Regions from separate parts of the Homo sapiens genome. Here regions 1, 2 and 3 are each linked to region 4. Evidence: promoter capture Hi-C in 16 types of primary human blood cells and fetal thymus (Javierre and others, 2016). All regions are on one chromosome and are shown on one strand. The core of a region is centred on a gene start or on the middle of the fragment in contact, and the rest is flanking DNA. Distances in the headings are between cores, read along the strand shown. Region 1 overlaps SLC24A3 (solute carrier family 24 member 3). Region 2 overlaps SLC24A3 (solute carrier family 24 member 3). Region 3 overlaps SLC24A3 (solute carrier family 24 member 3). Region 4 holds the start of SLC24A3 (solute carrier family 24 member 3).

Region 1 (2,991 bases), core at 379-2,878, 300 kb after region 4:
CTGTACCCACTGTACCCCTCGTTGATGATTGGGGACCTCAAATAAGAGGTTTCCACACGATTCCTTTGCTTGGCACTGCCCCAGGGCATATGACTGGCTTGTTTCCCATGGGTGATGGCTGTTGTGATTGATACATTAACTCAGCATCCCATCTCTAGCTTCCAGCTCTGAGACTAGGAGAACAATAGGAGAGGTGACCTTTCAACCCTAGGACTGGCCAGTGCCAAAACACCCTGTGGCAGCTACACTGAAAAATGCAAAGAAAAAAAAAAGCCTATTGCTTCTCCTCCAGGAGAGTGGCAGCTGAATGTAAATCAGGTCAAATCCTCTTTTGGAGGAGGTCACAGAAGGAAGAAGTCAGAGGGCAGAATGGAATTGCAGATCCATGCAGTAGGGGGGTGGCATGTGTGAGGGGCGTCCCCAGCCCTGGGTTTGCTGGGTGTGCAGCCCTTCTCCCACTTTCCAGCCATGGAGCCCAAGCATGTTGCCCCATCTGTCTTCCCCTTGGGTTCCTCATCTACAGAACTGGAATAATAATCTGTTTGTGAGGATAAGATGGGATCACAGGGGCAAAGTGCAAGGTACAGTGCTTGCCAGGAGCAGGTGCTCAATAAATGCTCACTGTTGTCATCCCTCTGCCCCTCACATTAATTTCCAGATCGTGGCTTCATTTTGGTCCCCAAGGGAAACTCCTCCAGGCTTCTCCCAGTTTATTCATTGTTCAGAGGGGCTCTGTGCAGCCTGTTTAGAGCAGCTTCAGCTTAGAAAAATCCTCCCATAATCATGATGTTCCTGTCTTTTCTTGTCTCCTTTTTTATGTTTAAAGGACCATACAAAACTAGAGATTGTGATTGGCTAGACACACAGGTGGGTCTTGCTTTTTTTTTAGAAAAAAAAAAAAAGCCTTTTTGAGATATTATTGACGTATAAAAATTGTATATGCTTAAGGTATACAACTTGATCTTTTGATATACAGATACATTGTGAAATGTTAACCACATTTCAGTTCATTAACGTATCCATTACCTCTACATAGTTATCATTTATGTGTGTGTGTTTGTGTGTGTGTGTAGTGAGAAGATTTAGATCCATCCTCTTCGCAAGTTTCAAGTATATAATGTAGTATTTTTAACTGTCCCCCACTTGCTGTACTTTGGAAGGTGAGCCTTGCTTTATGTACTAGACGTACCCTTTGGCCCAAACACTTCGTGTGGCTCCAACCCAATACCTGCACAATGCCTTAAGCCAATGCTGCCTTGGATGCAGAGAGCAGAGCCTTTTCAAGCAGTGACCGATGGCTTGTGTCTTGCACAAATCCTCCGGGCAAGCCAGGGGTCCCCAGCAGAACTGGGCCTGGATGTCTCAGAGGTCATCCACTCACTCCTTAGCAGCACTGTCTTTGTCTCTTCTCCCCTTCCTGGCTGCACTGCCTCCCTCATGCACAGTGCATCCTGGAGTCATCTCCCAAGTAAACCACATAGCTCCACATCCTTGTCGGAGGGTCTGCTTTTAGAGGAATCCAAAATAAGACAGGTGGCAAGCAGGTATCATCTAGCATATCCTCCCCATCAAATGGTGGTGGTTTCTCTAAGAACTTGCTAGAGAAAGACTTGGAGACATCATCAAGCTCAGAGGGAAAGACTTCTTTCAGCAGCTGGTGATGTCTGCCCATGTGGGGCTGTGGGTGGGGGTGGTGTGTGCTGCTTCCTGCCGCGCCTGGTGGGCACATCCTCCAGCAAAGGAGCCGTGGATTCCTATCGGAGGGACCACAGGAGGCTTCATAAAGGAGAGGAGATGTGAGAACCTGGCCCAGAAGGTTGATTGGATTTTATGAGAGGAAGGGACAGGAGGCCTGGTTAGTGGTGGAGGACCTTCTTGGGACCGTCAGTTCACAGACTCCAGCTTTCATCTCAAGGCAGAAAGGTTTTGGAACATTGAGAAGGCATGAACATCCCTGTGGTTGGCATTCTGGTCCAGCCACAAATGGAGGTCAACTTAGAAAGGGGAGCAGAGGGAGGGAGCAGGGAGGGGGTTGTTCTAATAGCACACGAGGCCCACACCCTAAGCCAGGTCAGGCAAAGTGGAAAAGGAGCAAAATGAAGACCCACTTAGAGCAGGGGCTTCAAATCTGTCTGAGCCACAGACCCTTTTGGTGATCCAGTGAAGCCTACAGCCCCCGCTCAGAAAAGCAGTTTTCAATGCATGCATGCAGCAAAGTACATAAGGTTACACATGGAAACTGACTGTGTGGAAATGAAGCTGTCAAAGTATTAGAAAACAAATTTGCAATATAGTAGTTCACGTGCTTCCTCATTAACACTTTAAGTCACAGGTGGTGACCTAACAACCACCATAAGATTGAAGCAGTGGGTGAGAGCTGCACAAGTATGATGGTATGACGTGTTATGAAAATATCTGTGGGGCCGAGCCCCAGGTTCTGCTAACGCTACTGTGGTTGGTTGCCCACGTTCTTATCTGAAGGAAACACTAAATTCTGGTTAGTTTTGTGAACTTAAAGATTCAGGATCTTTTTTTCATCCAAGTTCATGGACCCCATGTTAAAACCAAGACTCCCAGACCTACAGCACTGAAAATGTGGTCACCTGTGCTGAGACGGTTTTCTTTCTCTGTTCTTTAGCCCTGCATGAATTCCCCAATGACATCTTCACAAACGAGGATAGAAGACAAGGTGCGGTGGTCCTCCATGTGCTCTGTGTAAGTACCCCTCTGTGCCTCTGCCTGGAGGGTCCATAGGCTAGGCCTAGGGGTGTGGGGTGTGGCACCTGAGGTGCCCCCAGTAGATTCTCTCTGCCCTCCTGTTCCCACGCTGCCTGGTGGGGGTCCTTCGAGCTCTGTAGGGGGCCATCACCAAATGGAGATGAAAGACCACAGCTTTCGAAGGTGGAGCCATCTGTTATGCACTTTCCCTTCATGTTAGTGCCCAGAGTGTGGACTCTAAAGTCAAACAGCCCCACTCTCCATGACTTAACC
Region 2 (2,766 bases), core at 252-2,751, 260 kb after region 4:
TTTGAAAAACTGTTTGATGTGGAAGGAAAGGGTATCTTCTGATATGAAAAAGGCTCTCTGACACTAACAGTTCACAATAGAGGTGACCAGGAAATACACACGCCCCATAAAAATCACATCCAGGCTGGGCGCGGTGGCTCACGCCTGTAATCCCAGCACTTTCGGAGGCCGAGGTGGGAGGATCACAAGGTCAGGAGATCGAAACCATCCTGGCTAACATGGTGAAACCCCATCTTTACTAAAAATACAAAAAAATTAGCCGGGCGTGGTGGCGGTTGCCTGTAGTCACAGCTACTCGGGAGGCTGAGGCAGGAGAATGGCATGAACCAGGGAGGTGGAGCTTGCAGTGAGCTGAGATCGCGCCACTACACTCCAGCCTGGGCAACAGAGTGAGACTCTGTCTCAAGAAAAAAAAAAAAATCACATCCAAGGCAGAGAATGGCCACCATTCCCATTTCCATTTACCGTTTTAAAGGGCCCAATGGATGGCTATTGTAAATACAAAGATAACTGCTATTATTTGCAGATAATATGATAGACCTAGAAAATCATGAGAATCTAGTGATAATCTCTTAAAATTAATAAGAAAGTGTTAATGATTGAACATAAGATAAATATGCAGAAACTAATAGTTCTTCCAGTTACTGGACATGACCAGTTAGAAGATACACTCAATCTTTTATTTGCATTATAATGACAAAAAAAGAAATAATAAAATAAATAGGAATTGACTTTAATCTTGCACAACCTATATAAAGAAAACTATTTTAATTAGTATGTGTTCTTGGGTGAAGGATGGAAACTTATTTTTAAATCATTTTTTCAGTTTAATTTAAAAATTCCAAAAATTTATTTTTAGATTTACCTAAAGACCTGAAAATATTCTGATGGAGAGCAACAAAGAAACATTTTCTTCCTACTCTATACTTGGAAATGTGTTTTGGGTTTTATTAAAACTACAGCATCAAACCAAACCAATGAGTAGTGTGAAGGAGATAGCCCAGAACTGACATTAGGACTTGAGCCTAATCTATAACAATGGGAATAGCCTTGGCCAAATCAGACAGAAGGACAGTTTAGCAAAGCATGTGGGAAAATAGGCAAATGACTTGGGAAAACTCACTGTGGATGTAACATCCTCCTTGATCTCCCATTCTTCTGTCAGACCCACGCGATCCACTCCCAGGCCGGAGAGCTAGAGTCCTCTGCCTGCCCAATGTCTTCCTTGCTGGTGTTGCAGCTGGTTATATAAATGCCTTCAGAGATTCATTCTGGTGAGCAATTGATATTAATCTGAGATGTTGGTAGTTAAAAATAATATGTCCGAGCTTGCCTCAGGTGTAAATCCTGGACTTGATGAAAAACAGAAGTAAGGCCATCCCTGATGTTCTTACTGGTTAGCGAATGACTTTTCTTCCTGCTGTGCAATATTAAATGTAGGCCTCAATGTAAAATGCAAAACCATAAAATTCCTGGAAGGTAACATAGGAGAAAATTAGGTGACTTTAGGTTTGGTGATGATCTTTTAGATCAATACCAAAAACATGATCCATGAAAGGAAAATTTGCTAAGCTGGCTTTCATTGAAATTCAAAACCTCTGCTCTGTGTAAGACACCATGAAGAGAATAAAAAGACAAGCCACAGACTAGGAGAAAAATCTTGGCAAAGTACATGTCTGATAAAGGACTAGCATTCAAAATATGTAAAACTATACAACATATTGTCGGAGAGAGTTAGGTGAATGCTTGAAGATGGTTGCTTCAGAAAGGAGGGAAATCCAGTTGAAAGTATGGGGCCTTCCGTAGCAAGGATGTCAGTGTCCATAATTATGGGAACCCAGGCAGGGCTCCTCTCCCAAAGCACAAAAAATTCCAGAGGCATCCACCAGAGGAGGAACGATAGCACAGCAATGCCTGCTTGCTCATTAATCTTCTCTCCCTCTGATTCTTTTGCCCTCCTCTCTCTTCTGGGCACTATAAGGGCATTTTCGAGACTTAGAAACAAATAATAATGCAAGGAAGGTAAGGGCTCGTTTTTCTTGCTGTGGGTAAACCCTACGGGTGTCAGCTGAGCTGGGGTGGGATAAATGCAAGACGAGGACTGGTGCCTAGCCATAGTAAGGACTGTGGTCCTCACTCTGCTGACAGCTGAGCTGACACAGGGCTATTAACCAGGCAGACGCAAGCAGAAGAGACTGGGAAAGGAAGTACTCCTTCTTTATAATGGATCCAGCAGGTGGAACTCCTAGGACCTGCCAGATGGCAACGAGGTGAGGAAGAGTGGAGGCACTGCTGAAGCAAGCAGGAGATGGGCCTCCAAATTTGGAAACTGGCTGGACCCTGGGCTGGGTCAAGCCTGAGGAGGCCAAAAGATTCCAGATCCTCTGTTCTGAGCTTGTGTGGATGCCACTAACGTTTACAGGAATAACAAATCCAGGAGAAAGAGGCAGGTGTTTGCAACTGGTAGAACCTGCAGGGAGTAGATCGCCAATTTATTTGGAGGCAAGCTAAGTCCAAAAAAGGTGAGATTTTAATAGCAGATAAAGTCATTACCCAGAAGTATTTTTGAGCTACAAAATTTCTCTTCCACAGTGTAAGTGTGTGGAAGGAACTCAACAGAGAGAGATCAGTGCTTCATCCAGAGTTCAGCATCACAGACACCACAGTCCTTGGATAGGCAGAGAGTTTTTGGCTTTTGGTTCAACTCTGGCTCCTCCTGGCAGTGCTATCCTGGCATGAGGGTGCCATGTGCCATGTACCTAAAGT
Region 3 (2,780 bases), core at 169-2,668, 280 kb after region 4:
AAAGGGATGCCCCATTCCTTTGGAGACTTAGAACAAAAGCCAACTGAAGAGGTTGTCTCGGGTTGGGTCCCCAAGACAGAGATTCTTGTGCAAGTCATTCATTGTTGGAGAGATCTCCAGAGAAAAGGAGTGAGAGAAACAGGATCAGGCAGGAAAGGAGGCAACAAAGGAGTGGTGTTGGCTGCAGACCAGCCTCAGGTGGATCCCAGGAGACCATGGAGTGTGAATGGCACCACAGAGCTGTCCTGCCTTGAGGCAGGAGCTGGCCTTTGTACCCTAGTGTCTACCACCCCTCTTGGAGTGAGGACTTAATCTTCTAGGCATTTCTGGGTGAGGTTGCATGCACTGGCCAAGTGCAACTCTGGAGAACTTACTCTTAGCCTTTATCAGGAGCTGGATGCATCAGCCCCAGAAAGGGTTTCTGAGCGGGCACCAACAGCATCTACAAGACATAGTCATGTGGTTGTCCTGCCTGTACTTTGCATTGGACTGGATGTACAAGTTCTTGTCACCTTTACAAGGAGACATCATTCATCTGTCTATGAGAACTCCCTTTCCTTTCCAGCCCTTTCCTTCTCAGCTTTTAGACATGTTTTGTAAAAGTAGGGGAAGGGGTGGATACATAAGTGAATGTAGCTGGTCAGACATGAACGCCTCGCTCTGTAGAGCATCGCCAGCTGTGGATGTAGCCGCTCAGCTATTCATCCAGGCTTGTTAAAATATTAGAGCATAAAAAGGCTGATTTCATTCGTTGTATGGCAGTACAGCTTCCCTCAGGAAAGGCAAGGCTGGCCAAAATGTGTGTGGTCCATACCTTTTGGGTGGATGATATTTGCAAGACTTGACTCCCTCGGCTGTGCCCAATCTTGCCCTGACCATTCACTTCACTTCTTGCCTTTTCTCTAGAACTTCCCTTTCTGTTATTTGGAAATGGTCACAGAAAAGTACAATCTTTTCCATTCTGAAACCCAACTTGCCATTTTCTTCCATACCATGTGGTTCTAATATCCACATCCTCCACAGCACCCCAGATTTCAGGCTGGGCATCCTGTTGTCACCTGAGTCTGCGCCTGCTTCCAACACACCAATACATAGCCACACAGTGGATTCTGTTTGGCTCTTTGGATCTGAGTTTCCGGCAAAAACAAGATTTTTTTTAAAAACAATGTGACAGAAGAACATAGAAATGTCTGGAACGTGTTCAAGCCAGTGAAAACACTGAGAAGACACTCTCCCTGCCGCCTCTCAGTGCAGACGAGTCAGACATGCCTCTGGGACACCCCGGCTCCCTTTGGCTGGCACAGGGAATGGAAACTTTGGCCACGGGTGGTTGTTTCTGTGGCTTCTGCACTTCTGGCCTCACCCGCTTCTCACTGATGATTTCGCAGAGTAAGCCTAGTCTAGCATCAGTCCATCCTCAACACCAGCCAGCCGGTCTCCATGCAGCAAGGCCCGATAGGCATGCTGGAGTCTCAACAGGAAATGTGCTTTTCCACTGAGCAAAAACAGACACTCAGGAGCTGATGGGCTGTGGAGTGATGTGCATGGTTCACTCAGGACCCTGTCACATTAAAGGAGCATATGAAGCCATATCCCCACATAGCTCAGGGATGTGGGGAACAAGTTGCTGTCCATCGCCCACCCTCCAGCCTGCACTCCTGTGGTTGGATTCCCAATCTCTGTAGCAATTTATTGCAGGATTCCTTTGGAATGATCAAGAGAATGTTTGTGGAAGAAGCAGCATTTGTGTGGCTCCTGAGTTAGCCTGGGTTGCCAGAACCTGAGCCTGGCATGAGCATTCCCGTGAAAGCCATGTTGGACATGCTTCTTGGAAAAACTGGTCAGAGAGCACATAGTGTGATCAGGAAAAGGTAGGAGGTCAAGAAGGGCACGGTGTCAAGCAGAGTCCCACAGAGAGGAACTTCAGCACAACCGAGCCCTGGGTGCTGGCTCCTGAGTGTAGAAGCACTCTGGGAGCTGGAGTTAGCAAAATGGTAAAGGGCTTTCCAGGGAGGAGGACAGAACCCTGACTGCCAGCTTCAGTTCCATTATAGCAACTTTCAGAGGAGTTTGTGGGAGCAATAACAGCACCAGGCCTGTTCTTCCCCAGTGTCTAAACTTCTTTCTGTTGTAAGCTGAGCTCTTTTGCAAGCCCCAGTATCAACTCCTTCTGCCTTCTCCTTGTGAGTTCCAACACACTAAGTAGACATTAGGGTACCAGCCATTTACCCCATGGGGTACCAGCGATTTGCCCCATGGCCGTAAAATGTGCACATGATAAAAAAGGGCCCTGGGGCATAGAAAGAGTCCCTACAAAAGGTGCCAACATGCTTTCCATCAGGATGTATCTCAGGCAACAGGAGAATCTGAGTCAGCTCCCAGCTCATTCTTAGCCCATGACAAATGTTGAGACACAAGTAGACATTTCCGGCACTCAAATAAGGCAAGAACTCCAAACCAGTCCCTTTTTGGGTAGAAGGGGCTAGGACCGTTTCATCTGAATAGGAAGCTCTAGTTGGAGAAAGATACTTACCGCAAGGCCTGCAGTGAGGAGCAGAATCCCAGACGCTATGTCCTCCGGGGTCATGTTTCTCCAGCCCAAGGCTTAGTAAAAGGCTAATTAGGAAGTTGGCCAATTTTAGTCTCGGGTCCCATTTTGGGCTCTAATGTACTGTGAAATGTAATGCAATTCCACATGTTTTGCAGATGCTTGGTGCAGTCATTTCTTTGGGAAAAAACAAGGTTAGGGTTTGCACATTTTTTCCCCTTTGAGCCTGGGG
Region 4 (2,700 bases), core at 10-2,509:
TCCTCCTCAGCCCAGCCAGCAGCCCCAGGCTAGCATCTGGGAAGAGTCCAGGGAAGCCCAATGAGGGAGAGTGGGCTGTGTCTGGGATGGCCAGGGATCCCCTCCAAATGGGCACCTGCGGCAGGTCGTGAGTCCAGCCATCTCTAGGGCAGCCCACACCTTCAGCAAGGAGGGGCAGGAGACCTAGAATGGGGGAAATGGGAGGACTAAGATTCTAACGTTGGAGGTAGGGCAGGCTGGTGTTACCTGCACAAGGCCAGAAGCCTCTTCAGGCCGCCTCTCCAGGGACCGTGCCAGCTGTCCCCACTTCGATCAGCCACAGTATTGGACTTGGTCCAGCACGAACAGAAAGCGAAGTGTGAGCCCAAGACAGAGGGGGGAGCCGGACACCCTTATGGAACTAACAGCCTCTGGGGAGGCCTGTTCCAGATCCCGAGTCGGGCGCACAGGGGGATCCCCGCAAGGGGGCAGAGGGAAACCCGGGAGGCCCGCGAGAAGAGGCGAGGCCAGAGGCTGGGCGCGGGCAGCCAAGCGCACTCGCGGCGCCCCGACTCCAGGTAGCACGTAGAGAGGAGGCTGAAGAGCCCCTCGGTTTTCCGAAAGTTTCCAGCGAATCCTTCTTGGTGAAGATCGGCCTCTGGGAGGCAGCGTGTGTGCTTCCCGAGAGGGGGCCCCCTGCGCCGTCCCTCTTCCCCTGGCACAGAAGGGTTGAAGGACTGCACACAGGGATCCCTCCCCAGCCCAGTCTCCTCCCAGCGCGCCCCCTCCCCGCCATGCCGGCCAGCGCCGGGCTGTGTCCCAGGCACTGCCCCCCGCCAACCCTGGCCCGACCAGCCTCGCCGCTGCAGGCTGCCGGGAGCTGCGCTAGCTCATGCTCCCAGCTCGCTCGGTGCTCCCTGTTCGCTCCGGCCCGGCCCCGGCCCCCATCGCGCCGACCATGGAATAGGCGGGCGGCCCCGCGAGGCGCTCCTGCAGCCGGCGAGGCCAGAGCCAGTCCGGGGTGGCTTTGCCAACCGGCGGAGTTGGCCAGCGGCGGGCCCTCCTACCGTCGGTCCTTCCCCGCTCCTCCTCCTCTGCCCCCTCCGCCCCCGCCTCCCGGCCGCCCCCGCCGCCCCCGCCGCGCCGCCGCCCCAGGCCGAGCGCGGGCGCGGAGCGTGGGAGCCATGGCGCGCGAGGAGGAGCGGGACCCCGAGCGCCGGGAGGCGGCGGCGCGGGCGAGCGGCGAGGAGGAGGAGGAGGGAGGGGAGGAGGGACTGGGCGATAGCGACGAGGAGGGCGACGACGAGGAGACGGGCAGCGGCGAGGAGGAGGAAGAGGAGGCGGAGGCGGCGGCCGGGTGGGAGCGCAGCGAGGACGCGCGGCTGCTGCGCGCAGGGCTGCCTCCTGCCGCTGTCCCCGCCGCGGCCGCCCGCGACAGGAGCGGCCGCCGCCCGCCGAGGCCGCCGCCCGGCCGCCCGAGGATGCGGCCGTCCGGCGACGAGGACCGCGCGCGTCGCCGCCGCCGCCGCCGCCGCCGGAGGGACCTTCTGCTGAGCCAGCTCTGCTTCCTGGCCTCGGTGGCGCTGCTGCTCTGGTCGCTGTCGAGCCTGCGAGAGCAGAAGGGTGAGTGCACGCTGCCTGCCCCGAGTGGGCGCTGCGGCTCCGGCGGCTCGGGGCTCCCGGGGCTGGGCGCGGGGCTCCTTCGGGCGGCCCGGCCGGAGCCCCAGGATAAGCGGGCTGGGTTGGCGGGGGGAGTGGGATGCCAGGCACGAGGACTCCCCCTGCCCCACGCAGAGGCATGGAGGTGGGGACCCTGAGCGCCAGCAGCCAGCAGGCTTAGGCGTCTGGCCGCCCTGGGAACATTTACCTGTGCCCGCCTGTGCGCTGCTTACTCGCGAGCTGGAGGTACTGCTGGTGGCGGTGGTGGGGAGTCTTACTCTCCATCAGCCCCCAAGGCCAGGGATAAAGTTGTGGTGGTAGACCCGGCACCTGTGCAGGTGACCACCTGTATACTCCTTGGCTTGCTGAAGGATTCAAGGGGACTGCTTAACACACAGTTGTCCGTATGTTCTCCATCCAGAGAGCAGGCGGGATGGCCCGAGTAGAGAGCTCTTCAACCCCCTTTCAGAACAGGTGCCGGGAACTTCAGGGAGAGAAAAAGTGTTGGCCCTCCAGCTATGGGCTAGTAGGGGACTTGTTCTCCTAAAATGACCACTCACTGGGAAGACAGGGAATTCTTCCTCAGAGGTCCCTTTTGCAGAGCTGCTGCTGTGGAAGAAATGGTTTGCAGTGGACCACGCATCACACTGTCCGCTCCTCTACCGGTGCTCTGCGCAAAGTCTGCCCTTTAACCCACAACTTTTGTCTTGTCTTTGTCCTTGGCCTTTCTTGAGCTGAAATAGATCTTGTGTGCTCCCAACAGTTGTCTGCTGAAACAGCTTCGATCCTGGGATTCAGCTGTCTATAAAATGAAGGAAAAACATGGGAGAATAACTGTTGTAAAATGGTTTTATATCCCGGCCGTGGAAGTGGCACGATTAGTGGGAAAACAGCCATGTAAAGGGTTGTGAGAAAGAAACAAAACAAAACAAAACAAACAAACAAAAAAACAGTTACAAGTATGTGCTGTGGTGTTGAGGTCGACGTAGCTCTAATGCAAGATGTCATGAGGTGCAGAATAAAGACATTTTGATAGTCACCGTAAAATATTTTCAAAGGTGC

What was found. The method cuts DNA at HindIII sites, captures the fragments that hold promoters and counts their contacts. A CHiCAGO score of 5 or more calls a contact.
Region 1: a fragment that was not itself captured here is called in contact with the fragment with the promoter of SLC24A3 in region 4 in 1 of 17 cell types (megakaryocytes); the score reaches 6.7 in megakaryocytes.
Region 2: a contact is called between a fragment that was not itself captured here and the fragment with the promoter of SLC24A3 in region 4, in 1 of 17 cell types (megakaryocytes). The highest score is 7.6, in megakaryocytes.
Region 3: a contact is called between a fragment that was not itself captured here and the fragment with the promoter of SLC24A3 in region 4, in 4 of 17 cell types (megakaryocytes, M1 macrophages, M0 macrophages and 1 more). The highest score is 6.9, in megakaryocytes.

The regions. Positions count from the first base shown.
Region 1 is chr20:19,512,850-19,515,840 of GRCh38, forward strand. SLC24A3 (solute carrier family 24 member 3) reads left to right here. Exons shown (of 17, transcript NM_020689.4): 3 at 2,639-2,715. Among named protein-coding and RNA genes, the nearest start is that of SLC24A3-AS1, 230 kb to the left of the region's middle. The HindIII fragment of the contact is 3,344 bases long and covers 1-2,991 here.
Region 2 is chr20:19,474,935-19,477,700 of GRCh38, forward strand. The region is part of intron 2 of SLC24A3 (solute carrier family 24 member 3); the gene reads left to right. Among named protein-coding and RNA genes, the nearest start is that of SLC24A3-AS1, 190 kb to the left of the region's middle. The HindIII fragment of the contact is 6,432 bases long and covers 1-2,766 here.
Region 3 is chr20:19,494,818-19,497,597 of GRCh38, forward strand. All of the region lies in intron 2 of SLC24A3 (solute carrier family 24 member 3), which reads left to right. Among named protein-coding and RNA genes, the nearest start is that of SLC24A3-AS1, 210 kb to the left of the region's middle. RefSeq lists an enhancer at 1,830-2,780. The HindIII fragment of the contact is 3,454 bases long and covers 1-2,780 here.
Region 4 is chr20:19,211,383-19,214,082 of GRCh38, forward strand. SLC24A3 (solute carrier family 24 member 3) reads left to right here and starts at 1,260. Exons shown (of 17, transcript NM_020689.4): 1 at 1,260-1,602. The coding sequence starts at 1,461. LOC101929547 (a long non-coding RNA gene) reads right to left here and starts at 1,086. Exons shown (of 3, transcript XR_007067549.1): 1 at 247-1,086. RefSeq lists a silencer at 1,611-1,660. The HindIII fragment of the contact is 7,870 bases long and covers 1-2,700 here.